Regions from separate parts of the Homo sapiens genome. Here regions 1 and 2 are each linked to region 3. Evidence: promoter capture Hi-C in human tissues and cell types (Jung and others, 2019). All regions are on one chromosome and are shown on one strand. The core of a region is centred on a gene start or on the middle of the fragment in contact, and the rest is flanking DNA. Distances in the headings are between cores, read along the strand shown.

Region 1 (3,047 bases), core at 215-2,714, 290 kb after region 3:
CTACTTCCTGAGGTCATGATTAAGACAATGCACGTGGAACACCTTCGGAAGTGCCTGGCACATGGTGGGTGCCCAGCCATGTAATATGACCCCCTTCCTCTCACCTTTACATCCCTGGGGTGTGGAATGTAGAGAAATAGCTGGAGGAACAACCAGGAGACTCTCAAAATGAGAAAAACCAATTTGGTTCCAGCGATGCAGAAATACCATTGATGAAAGAACACTATCCCCCCTCTCTTTTATAGAACTCAATGTTTGAAAGCACTTTTTCCTATGAGTTCACTCTGATCCTTCCTTCTCTTTTCTCTACCTGCTCCCCACCCCCAGGACCTCTGTGAGGTGAGCCACAGAGAAGGGAATCACTATTCCCTTCTCACAAGTCAAGATGGAGACTGGCAAAGGAATCAGAGGAGTGATTTCTCTCCATGAAGGGAGCTGTGAAAACCATCAGCCCTGTCCCTAGTTGGTCTCAGCCAAGCTTGCAAAGAAAAAAGGCTGGAGTTTTTTCCATTACAAATGAAGTGTAGCAAAGAGAACTTTGACACTGTATGTGCTTCTAAAAGGAAAGCAAAAATTAAGTACCTGTCAATGAAAAGAGTCAAACTCTGTACAATATTTGAATAGATTTATTCTGAGCCAAATATGAGCAACCATGGCCTGTGACACAGCCCTCAGGATGTAACCACTGAAGGGGTTCACCTTGCCCACTACCTAGATAGAGCCGATTCATCAAGACAGGGGAATTGCAGTGGAGAAAGAGTATTTCATGCAGAGCCGGCTGTGCAGGTGCAGGAGACTAGAGTTTTAGAGTTGTTGTTGCTGTTGAGACAGAGTTTCGCTCTTGTTGCCCAGGTTGGAGTGCAATGGCATGATCTTGGCTCACTGCAACCTCCGCCTCCTGGGTTCAAGTGATTCTCCTGCCTCGGCCTCTCGAGTAGCTGGGATTACAGGCATGTGCCACCATGCTCGGCTAATTTTGTATTTTTAGTAGATATGGGGTTTCACCATGTTGGTCAGGCTGGTCTTGAACTCCTGACCTCAAGTGATCCACCTGCCTCAGTCTCCCAAAGTGCTGGGATTACAGGCATGAGCTACCATGCCCAGCAGGGAGCAGAGTTTTTGAAGATAACTTGGTGGGTGGGGGGAAGCCAGTGAGCCAGGGGTGATGATTGGTCAGAGATGAAATCATAGGGACTCAGAGCTGTCTTCGTGCACCCAGTCAATTACTGGGTGAGGGCCACAAGATCAGATGAGCCAGTTTATTGATCTGGGTGGGGCCAGCTGATCCATCAAGTGCAGGGTCAGCAAAATATCTCAAGCACTGATCTTAGGAGTAGTTTAGGGAGGATCAGGATCTTGTAGCCTCCAGCTGCGTGACTCCTAAACCATAATTTCTAATCTTGTGGCTAATGTTAGTCCTACAAAGGCAATCTAGTCCCCAGGCAAGAATGAAGTCAGCTTTGGGAAAGGGCTGTTACTGTCTTTGTTTAAACTATAAACTAAGTTTCTCCCAAAGTTAGTTCAGCTTACGCCTAGGAATGAACAAGGACAGCTTGGAGGTTAGAAACAAGATGGAGTCACTTAAGTTAGATCTCTTTCACTGTCTCAGTCATAATTTTGCAAAGGTGGTTTCAGAATGAGGAGAAAACAAAGAAAATGACCCCCTTTTGAGCACTCCGTAGCTTTTATGGCACCTCTACCTGACAAAGTTTATGTAAAATGGAAATAACGTGGTCTTTGTGCACATTTACATTAAGGAAAAAGAGCCCTAAGGTTGACCTGCAAACTATAGAATTCCTAAGTCATCTTTTTCTCTATTTTTCTTTTCTGCCTGCTCTAAATCTTCCTTCCTTCCTTCCTTCCCTCCTTCCTTCCTTCCTTCCTCCCTCCCTTCCTTTCGATGGAGTCTCACTCTGTTGCCCAGCCTGGAGTGCAATGGCACAATCTCATCTCACTGCAACTTCTGCCTCCCGGGTTCAAGTCATTCTCCTGCCTCAGCCTCCTGAGTAGCTGGGATTATAGGTGCCTGCCACCACACCCAGCTAATTTTTTGTATTTTTAGTAGAGATGGGGTTTCACCATGTTGGCCAGTCTGGTCTGGAACTCCTGACCTCGTGATCCGCCCACTTTGGCCTCCCACAGTGCTGGGATTACAGGCGTGAGCCACCGCGCCCGGCAATCTGCTGTTATTTTTCTATTAAGAGAAAAACCACTGTTTAGATCCAACAAGTTCTTTTTGCAAGCCAGGTGAATTTGTATTTATTTCATGGCTAAAAGTTCTGAAGTAAAAGCTACAAGGTGTGTGTGTGTGTGTGTGTGTTTAAAAGGCCTTTATAATTTCCATACTTTTATGTTTAATTGGCAATTAAATCTGTTTTAATTTCCCTCTAGAACACCAGACTTTTCTTGGCGCACCTTATAATGTAAATTTTGCTGTTTGACTTTCATCTGAACTGTTTCCTTTAATATGCAAATTTAAGGCTATTTAGCTGTCAACTGCCTAGGGTTGTGAAAGAGGTTATCAAGAATTTGATAACTCTTGAGGTCAGGTGTTTGAGACCTTCCTGGCCAACCTGGTGAAACCCCGTCTCTACTAAAAATAGAAAAATTAACTGAGGATGGTGGCAGGCACCTGTAATCCCAGCTACTCGGGAGGCTGAAGCAGAAGAATTGTTTCAATTTGGGAGGCAGAGGTTGCAGTGAGCCAAGATTGCACCACTGCACTCCGGCCTAGGTGACAGAGCGAGACTCCATCTCAAAAACAAACAAAAAGAATCTGAAAGATTAAAATAGGAAAAAAAAAGGTTTTTATAAATCTGTAAGATGTACTTCTATAGGCATGCCTGATATGTCTATGTATTTATGGGTGGTGTGCACAGTGTTTCACTACTGAAAATAAATAAAAGAGCTCTAATTGGCTTAAGAAAATAAAAGCACTTGAACACTTTATCAGGAAAAAAGACTAGTCAAATGCTGTTTCAAGTTTATGTAATGTAAGTAAAATCTTTAATACATAAGCTAGCTTCAAAATTATTATTAATGTTGGG
Region 2 (3,054 bases), core at 247-2,746, 370 kb after region 3:
AAAATTATCAAAACAAGATTATTTAAAATGCAGATTACTTAAAAAGACTAAACATAAAATAGGATTGTAAAGCTATTCTCTTATGTTTCTAGCTTCCATCTGCTTAATTTTTATTTGTTGAGAGAAGTATTACAATTTGAAAATGTTTTAATTTGTAAGCAGTGATATTAAAATGACCAAACATATAGTAGCTTAAAAAAAAACTTGACAGAACATCATAATCAAGTGGCAAAAAGGAAGAGCCAAATAATTTGAGTGAAAGAAAGCTAATGAGTAGCAATCAGAAGCACTAGTAATTGAAATCACAAGGTTATTTTTTTTTTTTTTGAGGCGGAGTCTTGCTCTGTCGCCCAGGCTGGAGTGCAGTTGGCGCTATCTTGGCTCACTGCAATCTCCTCCTCCCAGGTTCACGCCATTCTCCTGCCTCAGCCTTCTGAGTAGCTGGGACTACAGGCGCCTGCCACCACGCCCAGCTTTTTTTTGTATTTTTAGTAGAGATGAGGTTTCACCGTGTTAGCCAAGATGGTCTCGGTCTCCTGACCTCGTGATCCGCCCACCTCGGCCTCCCAAAGTGCTGAGATTACAGGTGTGAGCCACTGCACCCGGCCCACAAGGTTATATTTTTAAAAAAATCTAATGGGGAGACAGTGTAAAGAAAATAACAAAAGGCTGAAAATAAAAGGCTTATGTTATTGAGTAAGCACATTTAGGGCACATTATGAATAAGAGGAGCTAGCAAAACAGACAGAATACAGCATGAAAAAAAAAGTATCCTAAAGACATAGGAGGTCATATAAGCAGACAATAATGACTGGCTAATGTCAACATTATATAGAGAAACCAACTGTCCTCCTTCTTAATCATTCTTTTCCCCTCACCCTCCAGGCAAGTAGAGTGAGCCAGTTTATATGGAATTCTGTAAGAACTAACTTTCTAGTTTAGGGCCCTTTATATTTTAATATGAGAAACGATAGTGGTCCAGAGAAAAAAACGCCTGAACAAACATACACACGAATGTGGATGTACTGCTCTGTGTGGGTATGTTATGTTGGGAAAACGGGTAGAGGCAGGAGAGTGACATGAGCCATTACTAACCCTTAACATAGTGTTTTGAGTTATATCCTTTCAATCTCTAACAGTAGTAAATAATGCAGGAGCAAAGACAGCTGGGAGATAAGGATGAAGAAAGACAGGAAAAAATGGCTAAGAACAAATGGAGAAAAGAATAAAATAGGGAATCAATGGACAGAAGCTACAGAGAAACCACCTAGCAATGTTTGAAAAATATCTTGGGGGCCGGGCACGGTGGCTCACACCTGTAATCCCAGCACTTTGGGAGGCCGAGGCGGGCAGATCACCTGAGGTCAGGGGTTTGAGACCAGCCTGGCCAACATGGTGAAACCCCATCTCTACTAAAAATACAAAATTAGCTGGGTGTGGTGGCATCCACCTGTAATCCCAGCTACTCGGGAGGCTGAGGCAGGAGAATCACTTGAACCCAGGAGGCAGAGGTTACAGTGAGCCGAGATTATGCCATTGAACTCCAAAAAAGAAAAAGAAAAATATCTTGGAACTTGAAATTCAAACCTACTAAGATATTTCAATAGTTAAAAAGCCTTCTTTGCTTAGTTAGGGTCAAATAAAGGTACTCAGCATTACTGGGGAGATTTGAGAGTATTTCTATAGTTTTACTTGGAACTTTTGCAAATTAGTAAAGAAATCTGGCACAATGACAAACATTACAAGATTAAATAATAGAAAAAACAGATATGGCCATCACGACACCCTGTGTAGGTTTTTAAAAAATTACTTGGTTTAGAATTCTTAATTCTTTGAACACACACACACACACACACACACACACACACACACACAGAGAGAGAGAGAGAGAGAGAGAGAGAGAGAGCCATCTACAAAGTGACCACAATAAGCACAAGATACTGTTTTAAGATGGTTGCAGCAGTTTTCCTTAGACATCTGGGTAATCTGTGATTTGTATTTTTCTAAGAAATGACTCAGAATTGACTTTAGAACAATAGTCTTTCCACATTATCAGCTGTTCTCTCTCCTTTCCCATCCCTTCCTTCCTGCTTCTCTGTTCAAATCTCTTCCCATAGTCTACATGAAACTAGTCATATGTAGTCCTGTCTCCTTTAAATACAAAAAGATCAACAGCAATTAGGAATGTGCATTAAAGGAAGCTAAACATGCATGAAAAGTAAAATAATGTATGAAATGTCTTTATACATTTTAAAAACAGCTTATAAACAGGTGATTTTAGATTTATCCAATCTAAGTAAGATTCGACTTCATCTTTTACTGAAAAATCTGATTGACCTTTATAAGCACAGCTGTTGCAATAACCTTTCCATTAGCTCACCGCACGTCACTTTGATACCTGTGAAGAAAATCAGCTATGGTTCCTTTCAATTCTACAGTTCTAAAACATCCAGATAAAAACATAAAACAAGTCAGTTTTTCATTATAATAGAATGTGAACAATTACACCCTTTTAGACTCTAAACATAAACTACATTCACAGCCTCTTCAAAGTTGAGGCTTAGTATAATAAATACAATCATACCTTAAATTGTTCATCCAGTTTCTTTCTTCCTTTCTTTTTCTTTCTCTCTTTTTCTCTTTCTTTTAGACAGTATCTTTTTTTTTTTTTTTTAGACAGAGTCTGGCTCTGTCCCCCACGCTGGAGTGCAGTGGGCTCAATCTCGGCTCACTGCAACCTCTGCCTCCCCAGTTCAAGTGATTCTCCAGCCTCAGCCTCTCCAGTAGCTGGGATTACAGGAGCCTGCCACCATGCCCAGCTAATTTTTGTATTTTGGTAGAAACAGAGTTTCACCATGTTCGCCAGGTGGGTCTTGAACTCCTGACCTCAGGTGATCCACCTGCCTCGGCCTCCCAAAGTGCTGGGATTACAGGCTTGAGCCACCGTGCCCGGCCTACTCAGTATTTTTCATAAGAAATTACTTCCCTTAAAGTTTCTGTGCTAACTGACAAAAATCATAGACTCTTTACTTAGTGATACAACGCATTTTCTAA
Region 3 (2,900 bases), core at 401-2,900:
GCCCTCCCTCTCTCCTCCTGAGACCCTCCTCTCCTTACACGCTCGCCTTGCCTCCTTTCCCCATCTCCCTGCATCCACTGTGCTTCTCCCTGACCTTGTCTGTTTCTGACCTTGAGTCAGACCCATCTGGGCTACTTCTGGCTCCTAACTGCTGGTTAAGGCAAAAACCCTTAACGGCTCTATGACTCAGTTTCTCCATCTGTACAATGGTGGAGGGGGGGAACAAAGCACCCTCTCATAGTTGGTGCTTAGCACAATACCTGGCTCAAAGATAAGGCCAGAAAAGTGGGGGCTATTTGACTACAGTTGTTTTCTGCCTCTCTGGGCCGTTCCCGTCCAGCCAGCCCCTTCTCTCCTTAGCTCCACCGCCCCCTCACCCGCGTCCCTGGGGCCCTCTCTCACCGTCCTCCGCGTCTGGGGCACGGGCTACCAGAAAGGTTTCCCGGGGGTCGCGCTTCTTGGCCTCGGGGTCCCTGAGGAACCTGGCGTAGACCGTCTGCGGCGCCCGGGCCTGGGCTGGGTCTGGGGAAGGCTCCTCCCGCGGCCTCCCCGTCCGCCCAGCTGAGCCGAGATGCGGGGTTCAGACAGGGTCCCATCCGCGGGTCCGCGAGGCAGCGCCTCTACCCGCTACCCCCAAGCCTGGGCGCACCCCCTCGGGCTCCTCACCCTAGGGATCTCCCCTGGGCTTGGGTTTCCACTTTCAACACTTCTCCCCGGCTTCCATTCAGCTTCCCACCCCCTTCTACCCCAACGCCACCCCCTTCTACACCAACCCCAACCCCAACCCCAACCCCAATCCCTCCCCTCTCATCACTCCCCGCCCCCTCCTCCCCCACCCCGTTCCAGGGCTCGGCGACACCCGCGCCGGCCCTCAAGCCCCTCCCTTCCGCAGCCCACACCCTGGGGGTCCACCCGGGCTCTGCACCCCGCCCACCTCCGGGCTTCCGGGGCTTGGATCCCGTGGGGCAGGGGGATTCGGGGGCCTCCGTCCTCTTCTTCCTTAGCCTCTGTGCCGGGGCGGGTCGCTGCGGAACGGGGGTCAAGAGGAGGTCGAGGAAGGAAAGGGGGGCGCTGAGGCCCGCCCATCCCCCTCTAATCCCTTGAGCCGCCAGAAATAACCGCAGATTATCCGGGGGGAACTGCAGCCCCCTTCTTGGAGTGAGGCAGGATGACCCCTTCCATGCATCGTGGCCATATCCAATGCTCCAAAGTCCCTATTCCTTCCCTGGAAACCCCAAGTCCCCAAACAGCCCTTTCTCCCCCCAGATCTCCAGACATGCAACCCCCAGACCCTGCTAAGGGGGACCTGTCCCACCCCTAGACCCCCTACCCTGCGTGGGTTTACGCACAGCGGGGACATCTTTCTGCTTCCTTTCCAAGTGGGGTGGCATACCTGTTTGGGGCGCCGCGGGGCCTCCGGGCTCAGGCTTTCTTCTTCATGCCCACTGAGGGTAGCAAAGGGATCAGCCTGTCTCCCTTCCCCTTCCCTCCCCATCCCACCCACTCCCCATCCCTCCATCTAGGCCCCCCAGGGTTCAGGTGCCACGAACTGGGGGCCTTCCAGACCTGTCAGAGGCCCACACCTCTCGGAGGGTTTCATCCCGCAGAGGCATGGTGCCTTTGCCTATCGCACCCCTTTCTCTGCAGGTCTAGGAGCCTCCCTCCCGACTCCTGCTAATCTCGGCTCAACTTCACCCCCCTTCCCCCTGCTCAAGGAGTGGAGGCCTGGCCGCGCTGTGGGAGGTGCTACAGCCCACGACCCTCCCCTGCTAGGCCCAGGCCACTGGGGGAAGAATCTCAACTCCAGTTCTTCTCAGATCCCCAGCAGCCTGCAGGATGGCCACCAGCTCCACCTGCCCCGAGAAGCCCCCAGAAGCTTGGGGTGAGAGGGGCCGATTAGTCATTTGTCAATGGGATGTGGAAGAAAACATTAGACTGGATCCTGTATTTATCTTTATTTCTCACAAAAAATAAGAACTAGAGCCAGGTGCGGTGGTTTACACCTGTAATCCCAGCACTTTGGGAGGCTGAGACAGGTGGATCATTTGAGGTCAGGAGTTCGAGGCCAGCCTGGCCGGCACAGTGAAACCCAGTCTCTACTAAAAATTCAAAAATTAGCCGGGTGCGGTGGCTCACCCCTGTAATCCCAGCACTTTGGGAGGCCGAGGCAGACGGATCACAAGGTCAGGAGATCGAGACTATCCTGGCTAACATGGTGAAACCTCATCTCTACTAAAAATGCAAAAATTAGCCGGGCATGGCGGCAGGCACCTGTAGTCCCAGCTACTCAGGAGGCTGAGGCAGGAGAATGGCGTGTACCTGGGAGGCGGAGCTTGCAGTGAGCGGAAATCATGCCACTGCACTCCTGCCTGGGCAACAGAGTGAGACTCCGTCTCAAAATAAATAAATAAATAAATAAAAAATTAGCTGGGCATCGTGGTGGGCACCTGTAGTCCCAGCTACTGGGGAGGCTGAGGCAGGAGAAGCACTTGAACCTGGGAGGCGGAGGTTGCAGTGAGCCGAGATCTTGCCAATGCACTCCAGCCTGGCCAAAAAGAGCAAGACTACATCTCAGAAAAAAAAAAAAAAAAAAGAATATGTCTGTATTGGAGGTATACCCTTAACTCTTTTTCTTTTTTCACTGATAGGGGACATGCTTTTGTGGTATTGTTTTGTTTTGTTTTAGACAGAATTTTGCTCTTGTCACCCAGGCTGGAGTGCAGTGGCACGATCCTGGCTAATTACAGTAAATCCATATCAAATGGAACTTTCTAAAATACTATTTCTTCGGTTGCCACCTTTGTTCAAAAACATTCATTGGCTCCCTACTGCCTAAGGATTAAGTTTAAATGTGTTGGGTTGACATTCAAGGCTCTCCCTGATCTGGCCCCAGTCTGCCT

What was found. The method cuts DNA at HindIII sites, captures the fragments that hold promoters and counts their contacts. A contact is called where the count stands out against the background at its distance.
Region 1: a contact is called between a fragment that was not itself captured here and the fragment with the promoter of TULP1 in region 3, in 2 of the 25 tissues and cell types used here (aorta and spleen).
Region 2: a contact is called between a fragment that was not itself captured here and the fragment with the promoter of TULP1 in region 3, in 2 of the 25 tissues and cell types used here (heart left ventricle and lymphoblastoid cells).

Annotation. Positions count from the first base shown.
Region 1 is chr6:35,798,862-35,801,908 of GRCh38, forward strand. No RefSeq gene overlaps it. Among named protein-coding and RNA genes, the nearest start is that of CLPS, 3.1 kb to the left of the region's middle. The HindIII fragment of the contact is 4,164 bases long and covers 1-3,047 here.
Region 2 is chr6:35,883,425-35,886,478 of GRCh38, forward strand. The region is part of intron 6 of SRPK1 (SRSF protein kinase 1); the gene reads right to left. Among named protein-coding and RNA genes, the nearest start is that of SRPK1, 36 kb to the right of the region's middle. The HindIII fragment of the contact is 5,262 bases long and covers 1-3,054 here.
Region 3 is chr6:35,511,246-35,514,145 of GRCh38, forward strand. It overlaps TULP1 (TUB like protein 1), which reads right to left and starts at 1,651. Exons shown (of 15, transcript NM_003322.6): 1 at 1,567-1,651; 2 at 1,394-1,445; 3 at 935-1,025; 4 at 403-561. The coding sequence starts at 1,613. The HindIII fragment of the contact is 7,738 bases long and covers 1-2,900 here.